2 separate regions of the Homo sapiens genome follow, and region 2 is linked to region 1. The links are contacts of gene promoters, found by promoter capture Hi-C in blood cells and fetal thymus (Javierre and others, 2016). All regions are on one chromosome and are shown on one strand. The core of a region is centred on a gene start or on the middle of the fragment in contact, and the rest is flanking DNA. Distances in the headings are between cores, read along the strand shown.

Evidence for each region. Contacts are between HindIII fragments. The CHiCAGO score rates a contact against its expected background, and 5 or more counts as called.
Region 2: a fragment that was not itself captured here is called in contact with the fragment with the promoter of USP1 in region 1 in 1 of 17 cell types (non-activated CD4 T cells); the score reaches 5.4 in non-activated CD4 T cells.

The regions. Positions count from the first base shown.
Region 1 is chr1:62,435,303-62,438,574 of GRCh38, forward strand. USP1 (ubiquitin specific peptidase 1) reads left to right here and starts at 1,747. Exons shown (of 9, transcript NM_003368.5): 1 at 1,747-2,098. RefSeq lists enhancers at 214-981, 664-1,013, 982-1,749, 1,574-1,643 and a silencer at 2,344-2,403. The HindIII fragment of the contact is 3,360 bases long and covers 343-3,272 here.
Region 2 is chr1:86,911,793-86,915,064 of GRCh38, forward strand. It overlaps SELENOF (selenoprotein F), which reads right to left and starts at 2,334. Exons shown (of 5, transcript NM_004261.5): 1 at 2,236-2,334. The coding sequence starts at 2,319. It overlaps HS2ST1 (heparan sulfate 2-O-sulfotransferase 1), which reads left to right and starts at 2,843. Exons shown (of 7, transcript NM_012262.4): 1 at 2,843-3,272. The coding sequence starts at 3,245. RefSeq lists enhancers at 1,631-2,245, 2,094-2,143, 2,246-2,860, 2,254-2,413, 2,464-2,583. The HindIII fragment of the contact is 468 bases long and covers 1,467-1,934 here.

The sequences.
Region 1 (3,272 bases), core at 497-2,996:
TTCCCGACCTCAAGAGATCAGCCCGCCTTGGCCTCCCAACGTGCTGGGATTACAAGCGTGAGCCACCACGCCCGACCCTGCTTGTACTCTTGAAGGTCAACGTGTAATCCCGCCACTCCCCAGCTCAGAATCATCTAACGACTCCCATCTCCTTACTCGGCTTACCCAGGGTCCTGCCTTTCTCACTCATCTCATCTCCTCCCATCTTATTTCCCAAATTGACTGCGCTCTAAGCGCCCTGGCCTCCTTGCTTCTTTTCAAAACACCAACCACATTAAGCTTCAGGACGTTTGTAACTTGCTGTTCTCTCTGCCCGCACCATTCTTCCCTCAGATTCCTCCAAGCTTTTTCATTCAGCTCTGCTCAAATGTCAACTCAAAGAGGTCTTTCCAGGCTATCGTATCTATCACTTATCTTAGCGTCACTTGTATCTCCCTCTCCAGAATGTAATGCTCCTTTATGACAGGGAATGCCTTTACATCCCTCGCGCCTTGAAAAATGCCTGGCACATAGTAGGCACCTTAAAAATACTTGATTAAATGGATTTGGGCTGAACGTATCCTGCTTAACTGCAGCACTTGAGCTGAGGTCACCTCACCAAAGCAGGCACACAAACACAAAAGGAAGCACACAACCAGATGAGGCCTGCCTGCCGCTCCTGAACCCTTTGGGAGGGCTCGCGCGGGAACCCTGGGAAGCTCCCGCGGCCGGAGCTGGGCCTGAAACTGTTCTTTCGTTTCCTCCTGCGGCCGAGAAAGGGAAGAGGTAAACAGGCGAAAATGAGGCGAGCAGGGGCTGAGGACCGGGCCTCAGCTCTACAGCATTCGCCTGAGCATGTATTGTTATCCGTGGCAGCGCCTTGTCTCATTGGATGGCCCTAGGCCTAGTGTGGCCGCGACTCCGAACTGAAAGCCCAAGCGCGGCGGCGTCCAGCCGGGCAGCCATTTTCCGAAGCTGCTCTCTTGGTAACCCCGCCCGGGCGCGTACGCACGAACGGAGGCGGGGCTTACCGCGAGGGCCTCGCTCCGGAAGCCGCACCCTCCGCGGCGTCCCACCGTCGAGGATTAACAAAACGCCAAACAAGATTTTAACAGTCGGCAGCGAAAGCGCGCACTCGAGCGCCAATGAGAGCGGAAGGAGGGGCACCGCGCCTGAGGAACACTCCGTATGTCGAACAATGATTGGCTGGAGCCCACCTTTCTTCTTTTTTGCTATTAGATGGGCTTGCTGCTCCCGCCCATCTAATTGGCTTTGGTCTAGGTACTTCTGATTGGCTTCCCCCGGGCGGTGGGAGGCGCGGTTTTGGGGATTGTTCATCATGGATTGGTGAATTTGGGCTCCTTCTCGAGGTGGTGGCCCATCCCGTCTGCTCTCTGTCCCGTCTCCCGACCCGTACGCTTTTCCCTCAACTCGCGCGCACGAATGGTTAAAAAAAGGGTGTGAGGCTCGAGCCCGCCAGCCAGGCCGCTAGCACCTCGCGCGCGCCCTCAGCGAGGACCCGCACGAGCTGCCCGGCTCTGTGCCTGCGTTGTTTGAAACTGTGGAACCCGTTAGGCTTTTGGGGAACTACAGTCCCAGCTGGCTCCGGAGCCCGTGCGTGCCAGGGGCGAGTGGCCGTCGCGAGACGGCTCCTGCCTTTCGTGTCTCTGCAGCGTGGAGACTGGAACCGGCAATTTCAAAGGACGCCACGTTCAATCGCAGCGCTGGCGCGGGCGGAGGCTAAAACACGGGGGTCCTGAGACTGAGGAAAACGCGCCAAGTTCCCCTCGGTGGCGGAGTGCTAAAGACCCTAGCGGTTCAGGCGTTCGGCGAGCGGGGCCGCTGCTTGTTGCGCTCCTGGCTCTCCCGGGGCGGGCGCAGATGGGCGCCGCTCCCGGGATGTAGTTGGTGTTGGTGCAAGACGGGAGCGAGCGGCGGTCGGGGTTCCCGCTCTTGGGAGCGGATGGTCACTCCCCCGCGGGGAGGGCGAGCCGACCAGATTTTCCTGGGGCCGGGGACCCGGCGGGCTCGGGGCAGGGACTCACCTGTCGCACCCACACTCATTCGGGTTGGACTTGCCGGCGTCACCGCCGCGGACTTCGCTTTGGGCCATGACCAGGTAAGGAGGGCCTGGGAGGAGGGGCCGGCTCCCGGGCGCGGGGGCAAGTTCGGCCGGCGCGGGAGAGGAGCTGCCGGGGAGACCCCGGGACCGTGTTGGCCTCGCACCCTGGTCGACCTGCCAGGGGGAGCCGTGTGTGCCTCGGGCGTGGCGCCTGTCTTGCCGCCGCCGGGACGCGAGAAGGCAGGTGCGGGCTGGGCGTAAATAGGCCAACTCCGCGGCGAGGGCGCCCGGCGCGGGGGTGTGGGCCGAGGACGCCGCCGCCAGCCTCCCCCGACCGGGCAGCCTGGTCGCTGCTCGTCCTTCCAGCTTTCTTTCCGTTCCCGAGAGCGGTGAAGGATGGGGAGAAAGAAACGTTTCCACGCAGGTTGCCCTGTGTCGGTAATTGCGAAATTTTACCGCGCATTTTCTTTCACTTACACTTTTTCAAGAAGTGTTTAGAACGCCGCGTGTCTTAAACCTTGGCGAAGATGTCCTTGTAGATTTTTGTTGAAAAATCGGAATCGAGTCGTGTCATCTTATAAAGAATTTAAAACTATTGGGACTGAGTGTTCACGCTGTCAACAGATAATGGTCGATTCGTCGTGCTTTCTGCGAAAGTTGATTTAGTTACAGGAGAAATATTTTGGATGTAACAGCCCCCCAGTTACAAGGAAAGCCAGGAGCAAGAAATAGCAAGGAAGATACTGCACCTGGCAAAATGTTACATTCTCGGTGTGAGCTTTGCTTTGAGGGGCTAGGAGGTTTGGTTTTTTGATTAAGCTGACGATCCGCTATTTCACCTGCCTAATCATTCTTCCCTTCTGTGTAGTCTGGTTACTCTGTCGGTTTGAGATCCAGTTTCTGTCATCCATTAAATTGGCTCTCGAGAAAAACCTTTTATCAGAATCATTAATGCTTGGCGATCCCTGAGAACTTAGCGCAGGTTGGTTTATCATTCAGAAGACAGCGCTTCCTCAGAAGCATTAGGTAGACAGGAGAGTAAGTGAAGTTGGAGACAGAATGGAGAGATGGATCAGCTTTCCAGTGCTTCCTGATTTGGGTCTCAGAAATGGTTTCAGTGTGCTGAGTTCAGTATGAATTCCTAGATCAGTGTCAGCCATGTGAAATGCTTATTAAGGATGAAATTTGAGTGAGTCTTGTGTAGTTCATTTTATTACTCTGCATTTTAAAT
Region 2 (3,272 bases), core at 451-2,950, about 24 Mb after region 1:
TTTTTTTTTGAGACAGAGTCCTGCTCTGTTACCCAGACTGGAGTGCAATGGTGCAATCTCGGCTCAGTGCAACCTCCGCCTCCTGGGTTCAAGTGATTCTCCTGCCTCAGCCTCCCGAGTAGGCATGCGCCACCACGCCCAGCTAATTTTTATATTTTTACTAGAGACGGGGTTTCACCGTGTTGGCCAGACTAGTCTTGAACTCCTGACCTCAGGTGATTTGCCCACCTCAGCCTCCCAAAGTGCACTGGAATGAGCCACCACAACTGGCCAAAAATGACTAATTTTTGGCTTGGGCAATTGGGAAGCTGACAAAGGCAAAGCCAACCATTTAGATTCTGAATACAGCCAGGGATAATTCAAACGGTGAACCAAGACGCTGTTATTTCTGAGGAGAGAGATGTTTATGGCCTGAGTGATTAACAATAAGTGGATGGATTTGAGATACTTAGGAATTAAAATCAGTAAGTTTCAGTAATTCCCTGGATATGATATATGTAAGGAAAGGAGTCAAACATGACATCCAAATTTCTAGTTTGGATTCTGTGCACAGTCACTGTGGTACGCTGTTTAATTAATTCCTATCATTATTACATATGGAATTAGTTAATTCCATAAATACCTCCTATCCTGGTATGCACACTTTGCAAAGTGACTCTGTCATTCCTCCCATGTAGAGATGAAATCTATTTCTCCATCCCTGAATGTGAACTAGTCTTGTGACTTGCTTTGAGAAATATGTGATGGAAGTAATATATGTGATTTCCAAGGCAAGGCTTTAGAAGGCATTGTAGCTTTTGCTCTTTTGGAGTGCTGCCCTGAGAGTGCCATGAAAAGAAGTTGGTCTAGCCGACTGGAGGATGAGAGGTCACACGGAACAGAACCAAGTCCTCGAGCTGACAGCACCAACTATAAACAGTGGTAATCCTGGAACCTTTCGGTTTAGCTGACCTACTAGGTCAACAAAAAGCATAAATGAGGCCAGGGGAAAACCAACATAGGTGGAGTAGTTCTACTCCACTGACCCAGAATTATGAGAAATCATTGCTGTTTTAAGCTACTAGGTTTTAGGGCGGTTACACAGCTATAGACAACTGACAGTCAAAGACAGAGGGAGATCAAAAAAAGACAACCTGAAATGTTATCTCGAATGACCTAAAGATGTGCAAAAACCCTTAAACAGTAGAAAGTTTAGGGAGAGGTGATCCAGTAATTCCTAGCACCAAATGCCTGAATAACAAGATAATTGGAATGTTAATTACAGAAGTTAAGAATCTACCTTTTGGTTAAAGTAGCCAAAGCAAACAGCCAGGATGCTTTCAAGCTCTTTGAGAAAGGTAAGTACAGGTGTTCATAGAGGACTCCGGTGTAGTCCCTTAACACCCTCAACCTTGGATAAGTAAATTAAACCAGGTCTCCTTATTAGAGACTACCCGAAGAATTAAGCTAGGATAAAAAAACGTAAAAGCTTTCAGCACTGTGCCTAAAATTTTACTATTCACACAGCAGAACATGGATATGAGAAGAAATAAGTTAAAAGTACACTTTTCCCATTCAAAGGTCACCCATCTATTCTGCCAATAGAGAAAAATGAAATAAAAAACGCTGCCTTAAAGAAGACAACGAACATCATTTAAAAAACTAACTTCAAAAATGAATTATACTTTGGTATAGATAACTCCTTTTACTCCAACAACATTGTTTAAAAGCACAAATCGCACTCAAGCGCAGCCAGCCGTATATGAATAGCAGAGGAGAACGGAAGTTAAGAGACTAACAGAAGTAGTGAAAATGAGAGAGCACGCGCGCGAGAGAGGTAAACACAAACTGTTCGCCTGGACCAACGACTTGAAGACTTGCCTCTAAGAGTTGGAAGTCTCGTCATGAGTCTCTTGCATTTCTGTCCATTTAAAAACAACCTCCACTTCTTGCCAAGCTTTATTATTCCCCCCTCCCACCTGGTGTGGTTTACAGATTGTTTTTAGCAAGAGCCGTATAAGAGAAGCTACGTACCCAAGACAATCTGAAATCAAGAGAAAACTGCTGCTAGAAACCCAAGGCGGGGAAGGAGAAGGATCAACCGAGAAATTAAGCCACGTTGCATTCTGGCCGCAGCAGTCATTAAGGAAGCGCAGTCCTCCCCACCCTTTTCAACCAGGACCGAATGTTGCGTCTTTCTCAGCTGCAATCACTCCTACTCTCCCTGTGGCAGCTGCGAAGGTGATCTACACTCACCGCTTGAAGCACAGTCGCCAACAACAACCGTAGCCCAAACGCCGGCACCAGACACCCACTCGGCCCAGCCGCCATCGCTACCATTTTCCGCAGGTTTCTGGCTGCCTAGAAGGACCCCTAAGCTAGGGGCGTCCACTCCAGAGCCTGATCCAAAACAGAACGCTAACGGCCGTTGCCCTTACATCTCTCATTTGGAAGTGACAGGTATTAAATAACGGCATATGAAAGCTTAAAAGTCATCAAATACAATCACTGGGTGCTTTCGATTACCCAAATCAGGCACTTGCCTAAACTCCCCACTTCTTTACTTCTGCGGTCTCCTTTCTTTTATTCACGACACTTCGTCAAGCAGCCAAGAAGCCACGCCTTCGCCAGTTTTAGCCCCGCCTTCTTCTCCAAGTTTACCCAATTGAATGTCGTCTTGATTGAGCTCTGTGGCAGAGGAAACCAACCGTAAACCGAACCAAGAGCGAAGCGCAGGGGCTCTTCCGTCCAATAAGCGGACCCGAACGGGGGGAGGGGCGGGGCTTCTGGTTGCCGAGCAGCGTACGCGGATGCGTGCGCGTGGTGGCGGAGGGGGATGGGCGGGGGCGGGGATGAGGGCGGCGCAGCCGCAGCGCCGGTGGAGGGGCGCGCGGCCGCGAGCAAAGGAGGGAGGGAAGGAAGGAAGAGAGGGAGGCGGGCAAGCAGGCGGGCGCGGGGGTCGGGGACTGAGGCAGTAGAGGGAGGCGAGAGCCCGGCAGCCGCTTCGCGCTGTTTGCTGCGCGGGCTTTTGGAGGGGGCGGCCGTTTAGTCGGCTGAGGAGAAGCGGACACCAGCGGCGTTGGTGATAGCGCCTGGGGGAGGGGGACTGGAGAGGCGAGAAGGGGGGTCGCTGCGGTGGTTCTCTCGCTGTCGCTCTCTCTTTGCCTCGCTCCCGGCTCGGCGGGCTCCTCCCGGCGTCTCTCTCGCCTCCGGGGTCCCGCTCCCCGCCCCCCGCGGTATGTCTTGATCCCGAGCAGCGGGTTTCATGGGGCTCCTCAGGATTATGATGCCGC